Regions from separate parts of the Homo sapiens genome. Here regions 2, 3 and 4 are each linked to region 1. Evidence: promoter capture Hi-C in 16 types of primary human blood cells and fetal thymus (Javierre and others, 2016). All regions are on one chromosome and are shown on one strand. The core of a region is centred on a gene start or on the middle of the fragment in contact, and the rest is flanking DNA. Distances in the headings are between cores, read along the strand shown.

Evidence for each region. Contacts are between HindIII fragments. The CHiCAGO score rates a contact against its expected background, and 5 or more counts as called.
Region 2: a contact is called between a fragment that was not itself captured here and the fragment with the promoter of OR4K13 in region 1, in 9 of 17 cell types (M1 macrophages, M2 macrophages, total CD4 T cells and 6 more). The highest score is 10.6, in M1 macrophages.
Region 3: a fragment that was not itself captured here is called in contact with the fragment with the promoter of OR4K13 in region 1 in 10 of 17 cell types (naive CD8 T cells, M2 macrophages, naive CD4 T cells and 7 more); the score reaches 9.6 in naive CD8 T cells.
Region 4: a contact is called between a fragment that was not itself captured here and the fragment with the promoter of OR4K13 in region 1, in 6 of 17 cell types (M2 macrophages, total CD4 T cells, total CD8 T cells and 3 more). The highest score is 7.9, in M2 macrophages.

The regions. Positions count from the first base shown.
Region 1 is chr14:20,034,575-20,037,692 of GRCh38, reverse strand. It overlaps OR4K13 (olfactory receptor family 4 subfamily K member 13), which reads left to right and starts at 1,655. Exons shown (of 2, transcript NM_001004714.2): 1 at 1,655-1,755; 2 at 2,712-3,118. The coding sequence starts at 2,935. The HindIII fragment of the contact is 9,053 bases long and covers 1-3,118 here.
Region 2 is chr14:20,162,364-20,165,488 of GRCh38, reverse strand. No RefSeq gene overlaps it. Among named protein-coding and RNA genes, the nearest start is that of OR4N5, 25 kb to the right of the region's middle. The HindIII fragment of the contact is 153 bases long and covers 1,237-1,389 here.
Region 3 is chr14:19,898,752-19,901,937 of GRCh38, reverse strand. No RefSeq gene overlaps it. Among named protein-coding and RNA genes, the nearest start is that of OR4K5, 20 kb to the left of the region's middle. The HindIII fragment of the contact is 2,116 bases long and covers 498-2,613 here.
Region 4 is chr14:19,878,113-19,881,420 of GRCh38, reverse strand. OR4K2 (olfactory receptor family 4 subfamily K member 2) reads right to left here. Exons shown (of 2, transcript NM_001005501.2): 2 at 1-3,308. Among named protein-coding and RNA genes, the nearest start is that of OR4K2, 4.6 kb to the right of the region's middle. The HindIII fragment of the contact is 200 bases long and covers 1,613-1,812 here.

The DNA of each region.
Region 1 (3,118 bases), core at 406-2,905:
CTAGAAATACCATTTGACCCAGCCATCCCATTACTGGGTTTATACCCAAAGGACTATAAATCATGCTACTAGAAAGACACATGCACACGTATGTTTATTGCGGCATTATTCACAATAGCAAAGACTTGGAACCAACCCAAATGTCCAACAATGATAGACTGGATTAAGAAAATGTGGCACATATACACCATGGAATACTATGCAGCCATAAAAAATGATGAGTTCATGTCCTTTGTAGGGACATGGATGAAATTGGAAATCATCATTCTCAGTAAATTATCGCAAGAACAAAAAACCAAACACCGCATATTCTCACTCATAGGTGGGAATTGAACAATGAGAACACATGGACACAGGAAGGGGAATGTCACACTCTGGGGACTGTTGTGGGGTGGGGGAAGGGGGGAGGGATAGCATTGGGAGAGATACCTAATGCTAGATGACGAGTTAGTGGGTACAGCACACCAGCAGGGCACTTGTATACATATGTAACTAACCTGCACATTGTGCACATGTACCCTAAATCTTAAAGTATAATAATTAAAAAAAAAAAAAGAAAAAAAAAGAAAATAATATTGGATTTTTAGGGTGGGTGAGGAGTTGATTATGAATATCCAGGAGAAGTTAGGGATTGATAAGGTAGTTATCACAGGTTTATAAAGAAGAGAGTGATATGATGAAAAATAATTTTTATAGGTAATGTTAAATTCATTCTAAGAATAAACTGTATTTGTGGGGAGATTACATTATGCAACATCTACAAAGTGGAATTCTATACACCTATTAAAAAGTTATGTTTCTATATGTTAATATAAACATATTTAAATGTAATAAGTTAAAAACTCAAGAAAAATAGCTATACATATAATATATAATCTGCAGTCTTAATAAAATGATATAAATATAAATACCTGTAACACTAACACACACACACTGTACTGAAGTGTGTATTATTTTTCTGGAAAGTTATCTAAGAAGCTCTTAAAATGTTCAGTCAGTCTTTCTGTTATCTGTGATGTGCTTTTTTCACATTGGCATAAACTACCTTTTTTTTTAAAAGATAATTAAAAGAAAAAAACATATTTTAACCAGCTTTTTAAGAATGGCTGTTCTATTTCTGATTTTAAAATACTTCAACATTCAATTTGACATTTAAAAATAAATATTGTTAAAATTCCTAATGTTGTGGATTTTTCTGTGGATTAAGTCAGCTGACTTAATCTAGATCCTGAATATGCACTACATAGTTTATTCATTCAACAGATATTCACTTAGTGTTTTTGATATGCACTATTCCAGATGTGGAGGATTTATAAACTTCTTTGTATGTATTTGAAAATTGTTCTCTTCTGTTTAAATGCAGCTTCAAAAATTGGGTTTCAAAAAGAAGCATTAGTAGGAATTCTTAAATATTAGTCATAAAACTGAAGAGAGCTATTACCTTTATAGACATATAAATGAATGGCTCTAATTACATATTTGATGAAATTTAATATTTTGCATCAAAGTTTCTCAGAGTGGGAAATTGGCCAACAGATATGTTTACATAGGGAAAAAAATACATCCCTAGTTGGATAAGTGTTCCTATGGGATTATCTCATAGAAACATATAGCACTATGGTCTCTATTTTTTCTGTTTCTGATGATTGGAAGAGTAAATTGCAGATAACTGATGGGGATACAGGAAAAGGAGATAAAAGGCCATTCCTGGGATTCACGTACGACGCCATCACGAAAGTTTTTTTCCCCTGTCTTGTAAGTAATAACAGCACAAAAAGATGACTACAAATACTTTATTTACTGAAGGTGTTTTGTAAGACCTAGATTAATTTAAAACTATTAGCAACGGAGGCAATTTTTTTAAAAGCTGAACCAATAGAACCAGTTTGTAATAAGCATGAGCCGATGACAAATTTTGTCATAAATTTAGATTATACTGAAAGAACTGTATTTCTTTTACCAACATAAATGTTACATCAAGCTAAGTCATTTTGAAACCTATGACAACCATACACAGGCCAACCAGCTAACCACTACATAGCAATAACCAGGTAAATGAATAAATGAATGCAAGCTGAAAGTGAAATTAGTCAATTACATTTGACTGTGGGTTGTTTGTACACATTGTCTAACCATCTAGAGGAGGTATTTGATGTGAATAATATGAAATGTTGAATGAACGAATTATATAAATATATATAAATATATGAAATGTATGTAATATACATGTTTAATATATATATACTATACATATACTTGACACTTCAAAAGTGTGTAGTGACTACTGCTAATACTGATCTGTGAGGGATTCATGCAAGAATGGAGCATGGAGGAAATAAGGTAAGTTTCTCAGGACCTAATTCATATTTCTTTACCAGAGTCCATTTCAAAACATGGTTCTTGAGAATCCTGGATGTATTTTTGATATCCTTTCCACATTAATAAAACTCAATATTATTCTGTGACTATAAAACTCACCAGAATCATTATCTTATTCATAGAGATCTTTATAGCAGAAAGAGGCATTCGATACCATATAGTCCAAATTCTTTTTTTCACTGAGAAGAAAACCCTCAAAAGGAGAGTTACTTGTCCTGTGTCACCCAGTGAGCAGCTTACCCAGGTGTCCTGTAGAGGTCTTCTGATTCTAATTCATGACCTATAGTTTTGTGGTTTCATGTACTATTAATGTTTTTATTTTTGTCTTCCAGAAACTTATATTCTGAATTCTACTGACTATTTGGGATACTTCTCTGGGCCATTAGTAAAATCACTGACTGACAAAATTCCACAAAAGTAAGGGTCCTTGTAAGTTCAAGTGCCTTGACTGAGTACCAAATGTGGACATCAACATGAACATTTCTTTCCAATATGCATCATTTCCCTACCCCTTATTCTCACTTATTTTGATCATTATGGGATAAAGTTGACGATATGGAAAGAGCAAACCATTCAGTGGTATCGGAATTTATTTTGTTGGGACTTTCCAAATCTCAAAATCTTCAGATTTTATTCTTCTTGGGATTCTCTGTGGTCTTCGTGGGGATTGTGTTAGGAAACCTGCTCATCTTGGTGACTGTGACCTTTGATTCGCTCCTTCACACACCAATGTATTTTC
Region 2 (3,125 bases), core at 64-2,563, 130 kb before region 1:
ACACAGAACTCAAGAACTTGAAGAGCATCTTGTGTCCACTGCTACTGCCATTGCCCATGCCACATTGGCTGCCAAGGAAGTCCAGAGCCCACTCACCCACCCAATACGCTGCTACTGCAACTGGCATTCAAGAAAGCCGTCCAGAGGCTCAAGAATCAGCCTGCCTGCAACTGCCAAGCAGACATGAGGAAACACTGTTCTAGATTACAAGAATAGACCCACTTAGCCCAACACCTTTACCATTGAAATCTGAAGATAGGGCCATCTGGCATTCCCCTCCCCAGCACACCTTCACCACAGCCCCGCAAATCACTGCACCATATTAAGCCAAGGAAAGCACACATACCACTAATGCTATTTATAGCCAAAGAAATTATACAGAATATTCACTACTGTATGTACCAAGAAGCTAAACCAAATGCCCCTAACCAAGCAACATCATAGTCATGTCTTTGAGTAAAAGGACCCTCCCCAGTGAAAGTAAATTTGAAAATAAGAAGTGACTATCACTCCAGATGTGCAAAAATCAATGTAAAGATGCAGGAAACTTTAAAAAGCAAGGTTATATGACACGCTCAAAGGAACACAATAATTCTCCAGCAATAGATTCTAGCCAAAGAGAAATTCTAGAAATACCATATCAAGAATTCAAAATATTGATTTTAAATAAACTCAGTGAGATGTAAGATAAATCTGAAAACCAATACAAAGAAATCAGAAAATGTATTTAGGAAATGAATGAGAAATTTAAAAAGATAAATATTAAAAAAGGATATTTTAGCACTAAAAACTTCATTGAAGGACATACAAAATACACTTGAAACCTTCAACAATAGGCTAGACTAAGCAGAATAAATAATTTTAGAACACAAAGATAGGTCTCTTGAAATAATCTAGTTAGATAAAAAATGAAGAAAAAGAATAAACAAAGCCTTTGAGACATTTGGGACTACATAAAGTAATCTAATGTACAAATTACTGGTATTCTTTAGGAGGAAGAAAGATATGAAGCCTTAGAAAATACAGTTTATAAAATAATAGATGAAAACTTCCTAAGTCTAGCAAGAGATTTAGACATCCAGATCCCAGAGTACCAACAAACCCCAGTGAATACATCACACACACACACACACACACACACACACACACACACAATCTGTCACCATGCGATATAATCATTAGACCGTCTAAACTCAAAATGAAAGAAAGAATTATAAAATCAGCAATAGAAAAGCTTCTTGTCACTTAAAAAGGAAGCCACTTTAGACCAACAACAATTTTTTCAGCAGAAACCTTACAGGTCAGAAGAGAATGAGATGGCATAACTAAAGTGCTGAAAGGAAAAAAAAACATGCTAGCCAAGAATTCTATATACAACAAGATCAAGCTTCATAAATGAAGGAGAAATAAATTATTTCCCAGTCAGGCAAATGGTGAAGGAATCTGTCACTAGACTGGACCTACAGGAAATTGTTGAAGAAGTTCTAAACTTGGAAACAAAAGCACAATACTTTTCATCATGAGAACACAGAGTATAAAACCCTCAGGTCTTATAGAAAAATCACACAATGGAGAAAGAAAGAGAAAAGAATCAAGTTGGCAACACTACAGACTACAGGTCATTATATAGTGAAAAAGGGATCAATTCAATAAGAAGATATAACAGTCCTAAATATATATGTACCCGACATTGGAGAACCCAGATTTATAAAACAAATATTACTAGACCCAAAGGAAGACATAGACAGTAATACACTAATAGTGGGGGACTTCAATGCCCTGCTCATAGCACTAGACAGATAATTGAGACAGAAAATCAACAAGGAAGTATTGGACTTAAATTGGACATTAGACCAAATAAGCTTAACTACTTTTACAGAACATTCTATCCAACAACTGCAAAATATACATCTCATCAGCACATGGAACATTCTCCAAGATAGACCATGTGTTGGGTCACAAAACAAGTCTCAACAAATTTTAAAATATTAAATAATATCAAAGTATGTTCTTAATATTTTATTCAATCACGGTTGAATGAAACTAGAAGTCAATACTAAGAGAAACTTTGGAAACTAAACAAATACATGAAAGATTAGGCAACATGCTCCTGAATTGGGTCAATGAAAAAAATTAAGACAGAGATGTTTTTAAAATTATAAAACCAATAAAAATGGAAACACAATATACCAAAGCCTGTTGGATACAGCAAAAGCAGTGGTAAGAGGGACTTATAGCATTAAATGCTTATATAAAAGTGTAGTAAAATTACAAATTAATAACCTGTCATACCTCAAGGAATTGGAAAAACAAGAACAAAGCAAGTGCAACATTAGTAGAAGGAAAGAAATTACAAAGATCAGAGCAGTGCTAAATAAAATGCAGTCCAAAAAATAGTACAGAGGATCAACAAAACAAAAAAAAGAAAACAGGGGCAGATGTGCTCAAGGCTTTGGGAGCCCACCTGTTGCATCACTGTGACCTGGATGTGAGACATGAAGTCAAAGGAGATATATTTTGGAACTTTAAGGTTTAATGACTGCCCTATTGGATTTTGGACTTGTATGGGGCCTCTAGCCCCTTTGTTTTGGCCAATTTCTCCCATTTCTCCCATTTGGAATGGCTGTATTTATTCAATGCCTGTATCCCCATTGTATCTAGGAAGTAACTTGCTTTTGATTTTACAGGCTCACAGGCAGAAGGGACTTGTCTTGTCTGAAATGAGACTTTGGGCTTAGACTTTTGGGTTAATGCTGGAAAGAGTTAAGACTTTGAGGAACTGTTGAAACAGCATGATTGTGTTTTGAAATGTGAGTACATGAGATTTGGGCGTGGCCAGGGATGCAATGATATGGTTTGAGTCTGTGTCCCCACCCAAATCTCACCTTGAATTGTAATCCCCATGTGTCAAGGGTAGGACCAGGTGGGGGTAATTGAATCATGGGGGGCAGTTTCCCCCATGCTGTTCTCATGATAGTAAGTGAGCCTCATGAGATCTGATGGTTTTATAAGCATCTGGCATTTTCCCTGCTTGCCCTCACTCCATCCTGCCACCCTGTGAAGAAGGTGCTTGTTTCTCCTTTGCCTTCAGCAATGATTGTAAGTTTCCTTAGGCTTCCCCAGCC
Region 3 (3,186 bases), core at 306-2,805, 140 kb after region 1:
ATCAAAAGAAGTTATTTACTCCCAAGCTCTAATAGTAGTACAAGCATTAGGTAAACATTACTATTCTGAAAGAGAAAAATTGGCTAAAAGAAAAGGATAATAGGTCCCATGCAAGTCTGAAAACCAGCAGGGCAGTCATTAAATATGAAAGCTCCAAAATAATCTCCTTTGACTCCATTTCCCACATCCAGAACATATTGATGCAAAGGGTGGACTCTTAAGGCCTTGAGAAACTCTGCCTATGTAGCCTTGCAGGTTGCAGTCCCCATGGCTGCTCTCACAAGTTGGAGTTAAGTGCCTGTGGTTTTTCCAGGCACAGTGTGCAAGCTGCAGGTGAATTGACCATTCTGGGGTCTAGAGAGTGGTGTCCCCCCTCCCACAGCTCCACTAGGCAGTGCCCCAGTGGGGACTCTGTGTGGGGACTCCAACCCCACATTGCCCCCTCAGCATTGCCCCGGTAAAGGTTCCCTGTGAAGTCTCCTCCCCTGTGGCAAGCTTCTGCCTGGGAATAGAGGCTTCCTCATATACCCCCTGAAACACAGGTGGAAGCTGCCAAACCTTTTTCACCCTTGCCACAGTATTCTTCTGTGTACATGCAGGATTAACACCACATAGAAGGCACCAAGGATTACAGCTTGCACCCTGTGAAGGAGCAGCCCAAGCTGTACCTGGGACCCTTTGAACTGCGGCTGGAACTGAAGCAGCCGGAATGTGGGAGCAGTGTCTTGAGGCTGAGCAGAGCAGTGCCATCTTGGGCCTGGCCCCTGAAATCGTTCTTTCCTCCTAAGCCTCTGTCCCTATGATGGGAGGGGCTGTCTCCAAGATCTCTGAAATAAATACATTTGGAGCCTTTTTCCCATTGTCTTGAGTATTGGCACTTGGCTGCCCTTTAGTCATGCTAGTCTCTCTAGCAAGTGATTGCCCTACAGCCTGCTTGGATTGGATTCTTTCTCTGCCACATGTCCAGGCTAAAAATATTTCAGAGTTTTACACTCTGCTTCCCTTTTAAATACATCTAAATTTATTTCTTTTTTCTCATATCTGACCATAGGCTGTTATAAGCAACCAGGCCACATCTTGAATGTTTTACTACTTAGAAATTTCTTCCATTAGATACCCTAAGTAATCACTCTTAAGTTAAAACTTCCACAGATCCCTAGAACATGAACACAATGCAAACAAGTTCTTTGCTATGGTGTAACATGAGTGACCTTTACTCCAGTTCCCCAAAACTCTCATTTCTATCTGAGACCTCATCAGTGTGGTCTTCACTGTCCATATTTCTATTAGTATCTTGGTCACAACTATTTAACCAGTCTCTAAGAAGTTCCAAACTTTCCTTCATCTTCCTGTCTTCTTCAGAGCCCTCCAAACTTTTTCAAACTTTGCCCATTATCCAGTTCCAAAGCTACTTCTACATTTTCAAGTATCCTTATAGCAACGTCCCACTCCTCATTACCAATTTTGTATTAGGTCATTCTTGAATTGCTATAAGGAAATACCTGAGACTGGGTAATTTATAAAGAAAAGGGGCTTAATTGATCACAGTTCCTTAACTGGTAGGAAGAATGGTGCCAGCATCTGCTTCTGATGAGGGCCTCAGGAGCTTACAATCATGACAGAGGACAAGTGGGGAGAAAGTGCATCACATGGCAAAAACAGGAGCAAGAAAGAGAAAGAGGAGTCTCAGATTCTTAAACAACCAGATCTCACTGAACGAAAACTCACTTATCATCAAGGGGATGCTACTAAGACATTCATGAGGGACTCACCTCCTGATTCAATCACCTCCAACCAAGCCCTACCTCCAACATTGGAAATCACATTTAGACATGAGATTTGGAGGGGACAAACATCCAAACTATATCAAGTGGGATCAAGATCCTGAAATATTTCTTTGAAGAATTGTAACAGAACATGAAACATGGCTTTACCAGTATGATCCCAAAGACACAGCACAATCAAAAGAATGACTACCAAGAGATAGTATTGGTACAATCAAAGTTGTCCAGTCAAAAACAAAGGTTATGGCAACAGAATTTTTGGATTCTCAAGGAATTTTGTTTGTTGACTTTCTGAGGGGGGGGGGCAAAGAATGGTAACATCTGTTTATTATAACAGTGTTTTGAGAAAGCCATGCTTTAGCAGCAAAATGCACAGGAAAGCCTGAACAGAGAGTCTTTCTTCACCATGCCAATCCTCTTACTCATTCTTCTCAGGAACCAAGAGCAATTTTGTGAGGGTTTTGATGGGGAATTTTAAGAACTTCTGGTTTAAAAGTAGAACTACACTGAAATATAATTTTTCATATATTACATTGACAAAAATCTAAAATTTCAATGTACTCTCTTGAGAAGTCTATGAGGTACTCATATATATGAGGTACTCTCATATAAATGAGAATGCAATAAAAAGGAAGTGTATTTGGCAATGTCTACAAAATATGTGTGCAATTGACCCTTGTACTTAGCAATTTTACTTGAAACCATAGGAAAAAAGAAAAGACTAGACATATGTTGATAACTATGAAACCTGGGTATAAATACACAGATGGGAGCATGTGAGCACATTATCATCTTTTGTATATATTTTAAACGTTCAAATTAGGAAGCTTAAAAAATAACTTTTATTCTTAACTACAATTATGCCTTCTGTCATGGCTTACTTGTCCTGTTACAAGCTTTTTGTGTTCAATGCCTGGTTAATTTGAAATCACTTTGTAACAGCACATAACTGCATTTCTTCATTGAATGATCAAGGAACTCTAGTTTACATATACTAAACTAGGAGTTGGAAATTCATTGAGGTACAAGATAGCAGGTCCTGACTTTATAGAATTTATATTCTAAGGCAGAAAGCACATACCTTGACAAATAATTAAAGTAAAATTATACTTGTTTTTTTTCATAGGGGAAGTAGAGGGTGGTATGGAAGGTTTTATTATATTTTAAAAATGTGTGGAAGGTCTCTGCTTATACATAAAGAGAGTCAGATTTAGCCAGGTTAAATGTATGATTATGTTTCTAGACAAGGAAGTTTTAAGCAGAGGGAAAAAAAAAAACAGTATCTGTATGTCAAGAGGTAAAAGTTATTTGGTGAGAGGTGCAAAGTTTAAAAACTAGAACAAATATAGCTTAAATCTAGAGTACATAAGATTTATCTAGCTTAAAAATATTACATATATAC
Region 4 (3,308 bases), core at 463-2,962, 160 kb after region 1:
CAGTCACATTTCCAGTCTCATTTGAGTGTTGGTCCTACACGCTCCAGAATAATTTGTGCATATTTACCTCATGGTGTAACCAAGAGCATTAAAAATAATTCCAAACAACAAAGCACAACAGAAACTTATAAACCAAAAAACTATCAAGTTGCTTAGCGGATTTCATTGGCATCTGAGAGTACATGCAAGAAGTTCACATGAATTAGATTTCCCTGGCTGTTTTCTTCTCCCCGTTTTTCAATTGACATATACATCCAAAAATCATGCAAAATAATATCAGGGAAAGAATAGGGAAATAGGAGGATTACTCCAACTCTCTCAACAAATTTTGCTATAACTGAGTTGTTTAAAAACTCACATGTAGAGAATAGATTCACTGGTAGTTTTTTAAATTTGAAAATACTTTCATAAGGAGTCTGGATATGCACAAATAACAGCATTTTACCAAGAACTTCTATATAGCAGCATAATCCAGTGATCACATTATCCTAAACCCTTATCAATGCAGAAAAATACTTCACATAAGACAGCTCATATAATACAAAACTTCATCTATCTACTAATCTATCCATCTGCCTATCTCTTCACCTTAATAATATGAGTCAAACATCATTCTTATTCTGACAACAATTGTAATGTGAATTCATCCTAAAATCAATAAACCAATTTAATATTTATTCATTGTAAAGAAGCAATAGCATAATGATTAAGCAACAACTTGATACTTCTCTTGATTAATGACAGTTGTGAACAGACAGAAAAACAAGTTTCCAGAAGCTTTAATTAATGTAAGAACCAGTGTAATTTTCTAGTGGAAGTTACTTTTAATTTTTCAAATTAATACTGACACACATATACAGACATGAATATTTAAAACATATAAATGAAAATTTACCTTTTAAATTAAACAAGTCAAGTGTTAGCTCAAGAGACTATCAAGTCCCATAAACAAAGATATCCAGAGGTTATCACCCAGAATGATACAATGACTAACATTTATTGACAACCATATGCTTCATATTATTTGCTTCTTTTATGCCTCAAATAACTCTGTGGTGTAGAGACCACTATTATCTCCTTTAACATATGTAGAAACTGAGGCTAAGAGGTATTAAGTACTTAGCTTAAGTTTACACCACTAGTAGTAGAAGTAGTATTAAACACTGTTTAAAAAAAAAAAAGATACCAGAGTCTAAGACTTTTAAAACTACACATTAGACTTCAGATTCTGCAGAGCCTTTTAATGCAGGGGTGTCCAAAGTTTTGGCTTCTCTGGGCCACATTGGAAGAAGAATTGTGTTGGGCCACACATAAAATACACTGATACTAAAGATAGCTGATGAGCTTTACAAAAAAATCACAAGAAAATCTTATAATGTTTCAAGAAAGCTTATGAATTTGTGTTGGGCTGAATTTAAAGCCATCTCCTGAGCCGCATGCAACCTGCAGGTCATGGGTTGGACAAGCTAGGCTTAAAGCTTATACAGTTTGAGGACACCTGTTTCAGGAAAAAAAAATCGAAATAACTAATAAAAGGTTGTTAGTTTCCATTCTAGGGCCTTCGAGGAAATCCATGCAAAGGAGGAGTTATAAAACCTAAGCTTTACAAGCTTTATGGTAAATCCACCATCATTATACCATATAGTATTCTAAAAGTTTTCTTAAGCATTTTTAGAAACAAACATAATTTGTAGTTTTTATTGCTATTACATATATCCAGTTCCTTCACATATTAAAATTTACACTTTATCTGTTTTTATCTATACCTGATTTTTAACAGTTTTTCCATCTGCATTCAATTGTTGTCAAGCTTCACAGCTTCCTAAACACGTAGAGGAAGATGAAGTTGCTTGTCAACACACTCTTCTTATAAATGCTCCAGAACTCCCTCAGTTGTGTTATTGCAGATAGTGCAGATCACTTAAAATTATACTTGCCTGCTTATCTTGTATTCTCTGCAGAACATTATCTCTGTCTCTGGAAACTCTGGTGGCAGCTGGCACCATCCTTACTATTGCTTAACGAGTCCATGGCCATGTCACTGCAGTTATCCTTGGTGAAAGAGTGTCAGCATCTTGTCTAAGAGATATATCGATAAAACCAACCACCATGAGTCCTAAAGTCCTAACTAAGATTTTTAAGTGTTTATATAACATGCAGAGGTACCATGAATATTGACTCCTCACACTAAGCCACCGAGAAATGTGATAGTTCCATTTATATATGTAAGCCCTCCAAAGGCTTTCTGTAATCCTTTTTATTATCAGCCACAGAATTTTACTATCAATCCAACTACTTAATCTCATTATTGACTTGCCTTATAGAGTTGTCTGCTGATCAGCTACACCTTTGAGGGTATTTTGGCAAATGTTCTTGAGTTTTAGAATTCTCCACAAAAGCACAGAAAATCAATAGCGTCTCTTCCAAAAGATTCCACAGTTTTATATTGCAAAAAGCAGCACAGTTTTGAAAATATTCCCTGGACAAAGAAATATGTCAAGTAAAAGAATTATTTCTAGCATTTTTAAGCACCAGCTAAAACATTCTACATAAACGAAGTCCTTGAATATGAACATATTTGTACATATAACTGCAACCAAGAGAAAGTTCACACTCAAAACCTAAATTGGCCTATTTGTATCCCTATTTAAAATAGAATTATGCTAATCTTGTGCTTACAGAAGCATGTTTTATTTTATGTTAATACTGTAGACGTTATTATCTAATAATTTCAAAACTGCTCAGGCTTTAAACACAGTATCACAGACTTTCAAGCTGTAAGTTTTTTCCTTATTTGCTTAGTACATTAATGAAGAAATAAAACACAAACTGATGAAGAAAAAATAAATTCCTTTTATAACTTGGTTTAATATGAACATCTAAGGATTTTCTGTTTTAATTATCTTTCATAAATGATAATTAATGCATTTCATTTGTTTTCTCCATTTACTCAATCATACCAGAAAATAACAACTTGATATTATCAAATACTGTGGTTGCAACATATCTTTCCCTTTGTGGATACATGTTGGATCATATATAAGACACTATATTTTATCAATATCATTTAGAAAATTCTAAATAAGAGTTAACTCATGAATGTTTGCCATCATTTAAAGATGATTTGCAAAGTAGGGTATACACAATTATTTTTCCTCTTTCAATACTTGCAATTCCAGTTAGTACCAGCAGGTGGTAGTAATACTTTGTATACATTAAAGCTAATATTGAACCTACCAGATTTATTTATAACAGTAATAAAACCTATTTGTGTACAAAAACATACTTATTACATTGACAATGTATTA